Linked DNA regions of Homo sapiens: region 2 is linked to region 1. The links are contacts of gene promoters, found by promoter capture Hi-C in blood cells and fetal thymus (Javierre and others, 2016). All regions are on one chromosome and are shown on one strand. Each heading gives the region's core, a stretch centred on a gene start or on the middle of the fragment in contact. The rest is flanking DNA. Distances are from core to core; before and after follow the strand shown.

What was found. Contacts are between HindIII fragments. The CHiCAGO score rates a contact against its expected background, and 5 or more counts as called.
Region 2: a fragment that was not itself captured here is called in contact with the fragment with the promoter of NDUFA7 in region 1 in 1 of 17 cell types (total B cells); the score reaches 7.0 in total B cells.

Annotation. Positions count from the first base shown.
Region 1 is chr19:8,320,040-8,325,332 of GRCh38, reverse strand. It overlaps NDUFA7 (NADH:ubiquinone oxidoreductase subunit A7), which reads left to right and starts at 3,958. Exons shown (of 4, transcript NM_005001.5): 1 at 3,958-4,025; 2 at 4,427-4,476. The coding sequence starts at 3,975. RPS28 (ribosomal protein S28) reads right to left here and starts at 3,837. Exons shown (of 4, transcript NM_001031.5): 1 at 3,764-3,837; 2 at 3,630-3,677; 3 at 3,242-3,380; 4 at 1,993-3,061. The coding sequence starts at 3,802. The coding sequence ends at 3,258. KANK3 (KN motif and ankyrin repeat domains 3) reads left to right here. Exons shown (of 11, transcript NM_198471.3): 8 at 237-382; 9 at 503-703; 10 at 786-884; 11 at 2,411-2,749. The coding sequence ends at 2,494. RefSeq lists enhancers at 1,969-2,934, 2,935-3,902, 3,809-4,048, 3,903-4,870, 4,871-5,293. The HindIII fragment of the contact is 9,773 bases long and covers 2,820-5,293 here.
Region 2 is chr19:7,194,945-7,200,749 of GRCh38, reverse strand. All of the region lies in intron 2 of INSR (insulin receptor), which reads left to right. LOC124904626 (a long non-coding RNA gene) reads right to left here and starts at 1,166. Exons shown (of 2, transcript XR_007067111.1): 1 at 1,034-1,166. RefSeq lists a silencer at 2,105-2,734 and enhancers at 2,566-3,402, 3,215-3,414. The HindIII fragment of the contact is 283 bases long and covers 4,034-4,316 here.

The DNA.
Region 1 (5,293 bases), core at 2,709-5,208:
ACTATGTCTCAAAAAAAAAAAAAAAAAAAAAAAAAAGATGAAACAGGAAGGTCCTTCACTGAGCAGATGGTATTTGAGCAACACCTTAGTGAGGGAGGAACCAGGTAGCTATTGTGGGGAGAACGTTGAGACCACCCCATATGCAGGTGCTGTGCCCGAGGCTTGCAGGGAGGTGAGTGGATCAAGTCGGGCCGCGGTGTTGGCATCTCCGTGGACGGCCCCCTTTTCTCTCCCAGGGGCCTGCGAGGTCAACCGCCAGAACCGAGCCGGCTACTCGGCCCTCATGCTGGCTGCACTCACCTCTGTGAGGCAGGAAGAGGAGGACATGGCTGTGGTCCAGAGACTCTTCTGCATGGGTGATGTCAATGCCAAGGCCAGTCAGGTGCGTGGGCGCCCCCACTGTGGCTCTCAGCCAGGAGTCACTTCCACTTTGGGAGTCAACCTGTGACCTCCCTTCCCTGAGCCTACCCCAGCCTGTTCCCTCTTCCTCCCCACTCCCCAGACGGGGCAGACAGCCCTCATGCTGGCCATCAGCCATGGCCGACAGGACATGGTGGCAACCCTACTGGCGTGTGGGGCTGATGTGAATGCGCAGGATGCGGATGGGGCCACAGCGCTGATGTGTGCCAGTGAGTATGGGCGCCTGGACACCGTGCGGCTGCTGCTCACCCAGCCAGGCTGTGACCCTGCCATCCTGGACAATGTAAGACCCCACAATGGGGCTGGCATCTTGGGGGGTGCCCATGGCTTGGCTCAGGGATCTGACTGTCCCTAACGTTCCACAGGAGGGCACCAGTGCCCTGGCCATCGCCCTGGAGGCTGAGCAGGATGAGGTGGCCGCTCTGCTACATGCCCACCTGAGCTCGGGCCAGCCCGACACCCAGGTGAGCACAGCTCTGGAAGAAACAAACTTTCCCAGCTGCAAATTCAGTTTGCAGAGGATAGTAAATATGCCCTGAGCCTCCCTTTCTGCTCCCCAAAGGTGGCACCAGGGGTGCAGAACCAGTGTCTGGATTCTCCTATGTGGCTGCTTTTCTTTTTTGGGAGACAGGGTCTCACTCTGTAACCCGGGTTGGGGTGTAGTGGTGTGATCAGAGCTCACTGCAGCCACAAACTCCTGAGCTCAAGGGATCCTTCTGCCTCAGCATCCTCAAGTGCTGGGATTACAGGTGTGAAACCAGAGCGCCTGGCAGGGGCTGGGATTTGATGTGAAAGCAGCAAAACCCCAGTGAGGTTGACACTACCCCAGGTCATGAGACTGAGTCCTCAAGGGGGGAAGTAACCTAAGGTCACAGAGACCTAGCTAAGACCTTTCATGCATGCCCCTGGGCTCCTGTTACCTACTGCCAGGGAGGCTCTTATCAAAGGAAAAAGGAGCCCTTTGGCATCAGGCAGGGTGGGGAAGGGGGTCCAGAGCTTCAGAACTGGAGACTGGGTGAGTTTGCAGAACACATTAACCCCCAACACCACTATACTCTGATGGCCAAGTGCCAGGATGTTTTAGCACTTTCATAATCCAAGTTATCTAATCAGCCCACTCATCCTGTACAGGTTGACCCCAATTTACCATGGCTCCACTTACCATTTTTTATTTATTTTTGAGATGGAGTCTTCCTCTGTCACCGAGGCTAGAGTGCAGTGGGGCGACTGCAGCTCACTGCAACCTCCACCTCTGGGGTTCAAGCGATTCTTCTGCCTCAGCCTCTCAAGTAGTTGGGACTACAGGCACGTGCTACCATGCCCAGCTAATTTTTTTTTTTCATTTGAAGACAAGAGTCTCGTTCTGTCACCCAGGCTGGAGTGCAGCGGCACAATCTCAGTTCACTGCAACCTCCACCTCCCAGGTTCAAGAAATTCTCCTGCCTCAGCCTCCCAAGTAGCTGGGATTACAACAGCTGTGAGCCATCGCGCCTGGCACAACTTACAATTTTTTGACTTCATGATAGCATAAAAGCAATGTGTGCTTAGTAAAAACCACACTTCAGCAGAGTATTCAATAAATTACATAAGACATTCAATACTTTATTAAAACAGGCTTCGTGTTAGACGAGTTTCCCCAACTACAGGCTAAGGCGTTCTGAACAAGCTTAAGATGGACCATGCTAAGCTGTGATGTTTGGGAGATTAGGTGTATTAAACACATTTCAACTTGCAATACTTTCAACCTATGATGTACTCACCGGAATGTAACCCATTGTAAACTGAGGAACACCTGTACTCACCCCACTGGAAGGGATGTGGGAGGAAGGTCAAGCGCCTCTTCCAGGTCAGAAGGGGCAGAGGTTGGATACAAACCAGGCAGCCTGGGTCCATGGTAAAAGAACCTCCACTAAGTGAGGCTGGGGCTGAATCCCACGTTTCCTGCCTCAAGGAGATTGCAGCAGGCCCCCCTCTTTTCCCCTCTCTCCAGAGCGAGTCACCCCCTGGCTCCCAGACAGCCACACCTGGTGAAGGAGAATGCGGTGACAATGGAGAGAACCCCCAGGTTCAGTAAGCTGCCTCGTCTGGCTCACTACACCTAGCTGTGGGGAGATCTCCTCGTCAGTCACCTCAGCCTTTGGCGCACAGAAGGGTCCAGGGTCCCCTGCTCAGAGGCTAACACTGGCCGAAGAGAAAGGCAATTTCAGTTGGGGTGACTGTGGCAGGAAGGGGCTCACTCTGGCCCCACCAAGGTGAGGTGGGGACCAAGTGATAGAGCCCTGATCCACCCACTCTCTGAAACTTCTTTGCTAATAAAACATTCCTACTACGCTTGTGTTTTGTTTGGGGTAGAGGGTGCAATCGACAAACACGACCCCCCGCCTCAAAAAGGAAAAGCTTCGTTTGGCAAGACCGCACGGCCAGGATTTCCAGAGTGCGGAGGATCGGTGACCGCCTGGGAGCCACTCAAGAAACCTGGAGAAACCCTAGTCGTATAACCCAGACAAGAACCTGAGTTAACTTGAAACACAAACGCTTTATTTAAAGGAGCATCTCAGTTACGTGTGGCGGACAAAAAAAAGGAGCAGACTGTGACAGACCATTCCCATCGGCCAAGTGGTCGAACCCGACATCCAAGACCCTGTAAACAGACCCAAACATGAGATGTTGACAGGCCCCGCAGCAATTGGCAAACTCCCGCCTCCCTCTTGTCAGTCTCTGTATGTAGACTCTGCCTCCCAAACCCTCTCACCCTGGGCTTAACGAAGCCTCCCTACCACCAACCAAAGGTCTATCAAAGGGGTGTCCTCTTTGCACCCACCAGCGAGCAGCCAAGCTCAGCGCAACCTCCGGGCTTCTCGCTCTGACTCCAAAAGGGTGAGCACGTCGCCCTCGCGCACGGGGCCTTTTACATTGCGGATGATGGATCGGCTCGTGTCGTCCATGAATTCCACGCGCACCTACGGGTCCCCACCGGAGTGGAGGAAGAAGTAAGGGCGGGCCGCGGAAAGGCACCGCGGAGTGGGAAGCAGATATGAATTCAGAGAACGTGTCGGGGCCAGAATACAGATCGTTAAAGGGAACCATCAGAACCCCGTGATGAAATGAGAATCGGCTCCCGGATTCCGGCTGGCAGGGGTTAGGGCAGGGTAGAGGTCACATCAGGGTTTAGGTCGCCGGCAGTCGGCCAAATGCCCCCACCCGATTACCTGCGTGCACTGTCCCTGAGAACCGGTCCTGCCCAGGACCTTGGTGACCTGGAGGAAAGAAGCTGGGTTCAGACCCGGCCCGTTTGGCTCCTCTAATCCCTCCCCCTGCCCCCAAATTCGGGCCCCCACCTCACCCTGGCCAGCTTGATAGGCTGCACACGGCTGGTGTCCATGATGGCGGCGCGGCGGCGGTCTGGCGGAGAGGAGTCACGTGCTTCGGGGAGAGCCTTTATAGGACGTTCTAGCACCGCCCACTCCCGTCTCGCGATACCACGCCGCGTCTTTCCCAGCAGCCCCAGCGGTGGAGACGTCACCGGCTGCGCCCTTCAGTATCGCGGACGGAAGATGGCGTCCGCCACCCGTCTCATCCAGCGGCTGCGGAACTGGGCGTCCGGGGTGCGCGGGGCGGACAGGGCTGCACCATGGGGGGCTTCGGGCTCCGTGTGTCCGGGACCCGCTCCTGCTCCTCACCTCCCTCCTAAGCCGGGACCCTTCGCTCTCCCCGAATCTCCCTGGGAACCCCCAGCTAGTCACCCCTTCAGCCCGGGACCCTCTCCTGGCCTGGGAACCACTCAGGCCTGGGATTTCCCCAGTCCCCGACCTTCTTAGCCTTGGATCTGTGGGCCCGGACTCTGGCTTTGCTCTTCACCTGCAGGACCCACATCCGTTTCCCCGAGTGTTCATCCCCTGCCTTCCCTTAAAATGCGCATCCCCGGACCATCCCTGGTCCCTTGCCCTCTCCTTTCCTCTCTCCTGGGGTGCCTTGCAGGCCGACCTCTCCTCTCCTCTTCCCACAGCATGACCTGCAGGGGAAGCTGCAGCTACGCTACCAGGAGATCTCCAAGCGGTGAGCAGGCCCCGCTCGCTGCCCAGCCTCTGGCTCTGTCCTTTCTCCACCAAAAACGAAATCTGTGTTCCTTTAGACCCCTGAAACGGAGGGCTGACATCCTGCCACCAGTCCCCTGCCAGGCTGTGGAGGCAGAGGTTTGCCTTTAACCTTGCTGAACTCCGGAGGACAGCCCTCCTGAAACAGCGAGGCCGGGCGTGCATTCTGACTGGCAATCAGGCTAGATTTGCAGTGCTCAGCGTGGCCATGTTAGTCAGTGTTATCCCCAAGCTACAGATGAAAAAAGAGGTCCAGAGAGGCGAAATCATTTGCCTCAAGTCACTCAGAAGCTAAAAAGTGGCAGCGGGGACTTGAACCCAGAAGTGTCCTGATTTCAGACTCATTTATATTAAAATATTAGTTGATATTTACAAGCCCCCGTCATGTATGACCTCAGCCTTGGGTTTAACTTTGTGAACCAGGAAAGTTCTTATCCACATTCTTTCATGGACGCCACATTCTAGGGAGAAGCATAGTAGGGAAACAAACACAGCAGGTAGTATTGTTCTGGAATGCTTTGAAGACAAAACAAAATAAGTGGAAGCTGGAGGGTGGCTACGTAAAGTCAGATGATTGGGAAAGATCTTTCTTTGGAAATTGACAGTTGAGTCCCCTGAATGATGGGAAGGACCCATTCAAAGAATAATTATTGAAAAAACATTCTGACCGGGCGCGGTGGCTCACGCTTGTGATCCCAGCACTTGGGGAGGCTGAGGCAGGCGGATCACGAGGTCAGGAGTTTGAGACCAGCCTGGCCAACACAGTGAAACACAGTAAA
Region 2 (5,805 bases), core at 2,926-5,425, 1.1 Mb after region 1:
TAGCTGGAACTACAATCATGTGTCATCATGCCCAGCTAAGTTTTATTTTTTTTAATCTTTAATTTTTTTAAGAAATAGAGATGAGGTCTTGCTATGTTGCCCAGGCTGGTCTTGAACTCCTAGGCTCAAGCAATCCTCCTGCCTCAGCCTCCCCATTAGCTGGAACTACACTTGTGTATCATCATGCCCAGCTAATTTTTAATTTTTTATTTATTATTTTTTTAAAGAGATAAGGTCTTGCTCTGTTGCCCAGGCTGGTCTTGAACTCCTAGGCTCCAGCAATCCTCCCACCTCAGCCTCCAAAGTGCAGCCTCTATATCTTGAACTCCACACCTCAAACCCAGATTGTCCACATGTGAGCACCTGTCTTTTTGGTTTGCTGTTTCTCTCGTGAGTTGTATCCAGTTGCCCAAGGTGGAAAGTTGGGCGTCATCCAGCAGGTAAGTCCTGACACCTCCACCTCCCCGATGGCTTCAGAAGCCAGCCTCTTCTTTTCTGTTTCCTCTGCCTCTCAACTTCCTCATCCATCTACCATAAGCCAGAAAAATGACCCCCAAATGTGAATCCGATGGTGTTCTTTCTGCCTGACATCTTTCTTTGGCTTCTGCTGTGGGGTAAAGTCCAAGCCCCTTGGTTCCCTGTCTTTCCTCTCTGGTCTAATCTTCTATTCCTCTCATCCTGTACTTTGCCCTTCATCAACTCTGAACTGTTTATAGTTCTCTGAACATAGCCCGAGTGATTCACACATTTGCATGTACTGTTCCTCTCCTGCTGTGATAAAGGGACAGTCACCTAATCCCCGCCCCTCCGTTGCATTTTTTTTTTCCTACAAGATTTATTATGCACCTACTGTGTGTATGGCTCTGGGATGCTGTAATAAGCAAGACAGACACATCTTTCCCTTCACGGGGCGTATGTGTCTCGTGCATACTGGGAGGGCAGGGACAGGGTCTCCATTCATTTCTGCATTCCAATGCCAAGAGGGTGTCAGATCTGGGTGGGTCGAGGTAGGGAACAGGTAAACATAACTCACAGTGTGATGCCGTGTTACAGCCAGGCTGGGTTCCTCACGCCTGTGATGGCAGCGCTTTGGGGAGCCAAAGTGGGAGGATTGCTTGAAGCCAGGAGTTTGAGACCAGCCTAGGCAACATAGAGAGACCCGCTCTCAAAAAAAAAAAAAAAAAAAAAAGCTGTCGCAGTGGCACTCTCCTGTAGTCCTAGCTCCTTGGGAGGCTGAAGCGGAAGGATCACTTGAGCCCAGGAGTCCTAGACTGCAGTGAGCTATGATGGCTCCATTGCACTCCAGCCTGGGCCACAGAGTAAGACCCTGTTTCAAACAAACAAACAAATTTAAAAAATCAAACAAACTCCCACTCCCCCAAACTCCATACCACACCCTCTCCTGGTCTCTCTGGGAGACCTGGATTCGAGTTCTGGCAGAGCTGGTTATTGGCAAAGTAGCCCCTCTATGCCTCGGTTTCTCCAATTCTAATGGTGATGATTGCTTGAATAATTGAGTTAATATGACCTCATTGATGGATTGGACCGTGTGTGCTGCAAACAGATTACACACTTTAAAGTGTATTCATGCCTGTAATCCCAACACTTTGGTAGACTGAGGCAAGAGGATCACTTGAGGCCAGGAGTTCTAAACCAGCCTGGGCAACGAGTCCCCATGTCTACAAAAAAATAGAAAAAATTAGCCAGGCATAGTGATGCACGCCTGTAGTCCCAGCTACTCGGGAGGCTGAGGTGGGAGGATGGCTTGAGCCCAGGAGTTTGAGGCTGCAGTGGGCGATGATCACACCACTGCACTCCAGCCTGAGGCGACAGAGTGAGACCCCCCCCCCAAAAAAAGTGTATTTATGGGGGTGAATGTTAAATGAGAATGTCCACTCGCTGCCTTGGTTTACTGGAACTGCAAATTCAATGGGGACACACAAGTTTTCAAATGCATGCGGAATACTGGCTGGAGGTTACCCCAAAAACGTAGCCTGTGGATTTTAAGAATGTATTTATGAGTATGGTTCTCGTTTTCTGGGTGAGTGGTGGGTGAGAATAGAGGGTGCACTGGCCCGGCGAGTTCGGAGATGCGGACCCTCCCCCCCTGCAATGTGAGGAATTTTGCTGTGTGACCCTAGTGAGCCGCTGCACCTTTCTGGACCCCTCCCGAGGGAGGCCTGGGGTCAGGGGGCCCCTCGGCAGTCCCGGGAGCTGCCACGCGGTGACCCGATCTCCTCCCGGGCACACGCCCAGCGCCGCGCGCAGCCTAAGCCACCCCGGTGGATGCTTGATGAGCCCTTGCAAGCTCGGTTTCTCCTTTTCCCTAGCTTTTTCCAAAGTTCCATCCGTGGCAGACTCGACCTGCGGGGTCTGCAGCCACGAGGGGCCCTCCCAGGGCGCCCTTTCCTCTGGCCGGGACCGCCCGGCGGCGGCCACTGCCCGAGCGCCAGTCTGGGGAGCGGAGCCCGGCGCACCCGGGGGGCGGGGCCAGCGCCCCTGCAGCACGCCCGCCCATTGGCTGAGCGCGAGGGCGGCGCTGCGGCCGCCGCAACCGCCGGGGCCGGATTCCCCGGAGCGGAGTGCGCCCCGGGCTTTGTGCTGCGCTGAGGCCTCCGGCTCGAGGGGGCGGAGCCTTGAGCGCCTAGGGCTCCCTCCCTCGCCCCCATGGGCACACACGCAGACACGGGCACACACGCAGACACACACACACGCCCATCATGGACACACACACACGCTCGCCCACCATGGACACACACACACTCCCACCATGGGGACACACACACACTCCCACCATGGGGACACACACACACACACACACACACACACACTCTCACTCTGGAACCGACCAATCCTGGGGCTGCACAGACACACACGCGCACACACTCTCTCTCGTTCTCTCTCTCTCTCTCTCGTTCTCTCTCTCTCTCGCTCTCTCTCCCACTCTGGAACCGACCAATCCTGGGGACACACACACACACACACACACACTCCCACTCTGGAACCTGCCAATCACACACACACACACACTCCCACTCTGGAACCTGCCAAACACACACACACACTCCCACTCTGGAACCTGCCAAACACACACACACACTCCCACTCTGGAACCTGCCAAACACACACACACTCCCACTCTGGAATCTGACACACACACACACACACACACCCAAACACACACACTCCCACTCTGGAACCTGACACACACACACACACACACACACACACACCCCCACTCCCACTCTGGAACCTGCCAATCCTGGGGCTGCTCTAGCGAGGAGACCCCTGGGACCCCGCCTCCTTCCGGGCCTCTGCGTGCGCAGTATATCTCCTAAGAGATCCGCAGCATGGAGAGGGCCCGCCCCCGTGGACGGACTCACTCCCTCCCCACTCACTCACTCACTCGCTTACTCACTCACTCACTCTCTCTCCGAAGAGAAGAAGCCTGCGGCTCCCGAAGCGGGAAGGCCCTCTGGTACTCTGTTCCCTTTCTAGCCTCTATATGCGCCGTATGTCTCCAAAGAGCTGCGCAGTTCTATTCCAAAGGCGTCATCGCGTGTGGGGCGGTATTGTCAGGCAAGGAAAAGGGGCGCTTCCCCGCTTCAAGGACACGCGCTCCTGCGGTCGTCGCTGCTGACCACGAAGCTGTCAAAAGTTCACCTCCTTGGCTGCCCCCAACCCCTGCCCCTTTGCCATTAAATCATTTACTAGATTCCAACTAGAGGAATTTGGCTCCGGGGACTCGAACCTCTGAGGTCAGGGTCTGGGGCCAGTGTGGGAGAGAAAGGCCTTGAATGGAAACAAAATAAATTACTTTAAGGAGTTTATAAAACTCACACTTATAGGGAGAGCCGCGGGGCCCTGTGGTCAATGTACCAGCAGGCCCATGACGCAACTGTTCCGTTTGGAAATTTCTGGAAAGCAGTAATTTTTGGAATCATAAATCTTGAGTATTTTTTTTTTAAACTTTGGAAAGGTTTTTAAACTTTTTTTTTTTAAGTTTTTTTTAAACTTCGGAAAGTTTTAAGCTTTGGAAAGAATGTAACAAAATGTTATTAACATATGTGGAGCTATCGAATCATTTAATGGTGGTTTCTGTATTTTCTGTTTTGTTTTTTATCACATACCTTCTTAATTAAGAAAAACCCAAACTAATTTGAACTTTAAAAGGGAGGCAAACAAAAAAGTGTCAGAGTGACTGGATTTTTGTGCGCAAGTCATTTAACAATGCAGCGCTGCGTCTCCTATTTCTCTGGCTTTTAACCTTGCTTTGGACAAATTGGTCGCTTTTTGTTTTGATGTCGTTTCAAGCTTACGGAAAAATTGCAAGATTATATCTAGATCAATCAATTGTTTACGTTTTATTCTACTTGTTTTATTACCTTTCTAATATATTTATGCACACACATTATATACATTTTTTTCCCCTGAACTATTTGAGAGTTAGTTGCAGGCATGATACATACTCCTTAATTCTTCAGTGGATATTTCCTAAGAACAAGAAAGTTCTGAGGCCAGGCGTGGTGGCTCATGCCTGTAATCCCAGCACTTTGGGAAGCTGAGGCGGGCGGATCACCTGAGGTCAGGAGTTCGAGACCAGCCTGACCAACTTGGAGAAGCCCCGTCTCTACTAAAAATACAAAATTAGCCAGGCGTGGTGGCACATGCCTGTAATCCCAGCTACTCGGGAGGCTGAGGCAGGAGGTTCGCTTGAACCTGGGAGGCAGAGGTTGCAGTGAGCCGAGATGGTGCCATTGCACTCCAGCCTGGGCAACAAGAGCGAAACTCCGTCTCAAACAAAAAAAAAAAAAAAAAGAAAGAAAAGAAAGAAAGTTCTCTTACATAATGATGGTACTGGTGCCGTTGTCAAAATCAGGAAATTAACATTGATACAGTATTTTAATCCAATGTCTTCTATAATCTTATCTGTTGTCTCAATATTGCCCTATATAGATTTTTTTTCCTAGGCGAAGGTTCCAATCTAGGATCACACTTTGCATTTGAATGCTGCTGTCTCTTAAGTCCGCACAATTCCTCAGTTTTCTGTGTCTTTCCCAACATTGGCTTTTATTTATTTATTTATTTATTTATTTTTATTTTTTTTTGAGGCGGAGTCTTACTCTGTCACCCAGGCTAGAGTGCAGTGGTGAGATCTTGGCTGACTGCAACCTCTGTCTCCTGGGTTCAAGTGATTCTCCTGCCTCAGCCCCCAAGTAGCCGGGATTACAGGCATGCGCCACCACACCCAGCTAATTTTTGTGTTTTTAGTAGAGAAAGGGTTTCACCATGTTGGCCAGGCTGGTCTCGAACTCCTGATCTCCAGTGATCTTCCTGCCTCAGCCTCCCAAAGTGCTGGGATTACACGTGTTAGCCACCACACCTGGCCAACATTGGCAGTTTTGAAGAGCACAGGCCAGTTATTTTATCGAATGACCTCAAGCTAGGGTTAGTAATATATGGAAAGAAAGCTACACAAATATTTTGTCTTTTTCATTGCCTCATAATGGGAAGTACGTGTTGTTGCCTTGTCCCACTATTGTGGGCAATGTTACTTGAAGTATTTTTAACTAGAATTTTTAAGAAGAAATACATTTCCCGTAAGGCTCAGTACCCAAGACATGCATATACCTGAATGAAAAGTTTCCCACAACAAGATTTACTCTTGCCATTTTCTAGTACTGTGGGATTTTTTCCTTTTCTTTTCCCCCTGCAGGAGGGGATGCTGCTGGGGGCTGAGGACAATGCTAAACCTGGATGTCTCGAGGACAGGGGATGGGGTTTTTGTGTCATCTATGTTCTGAT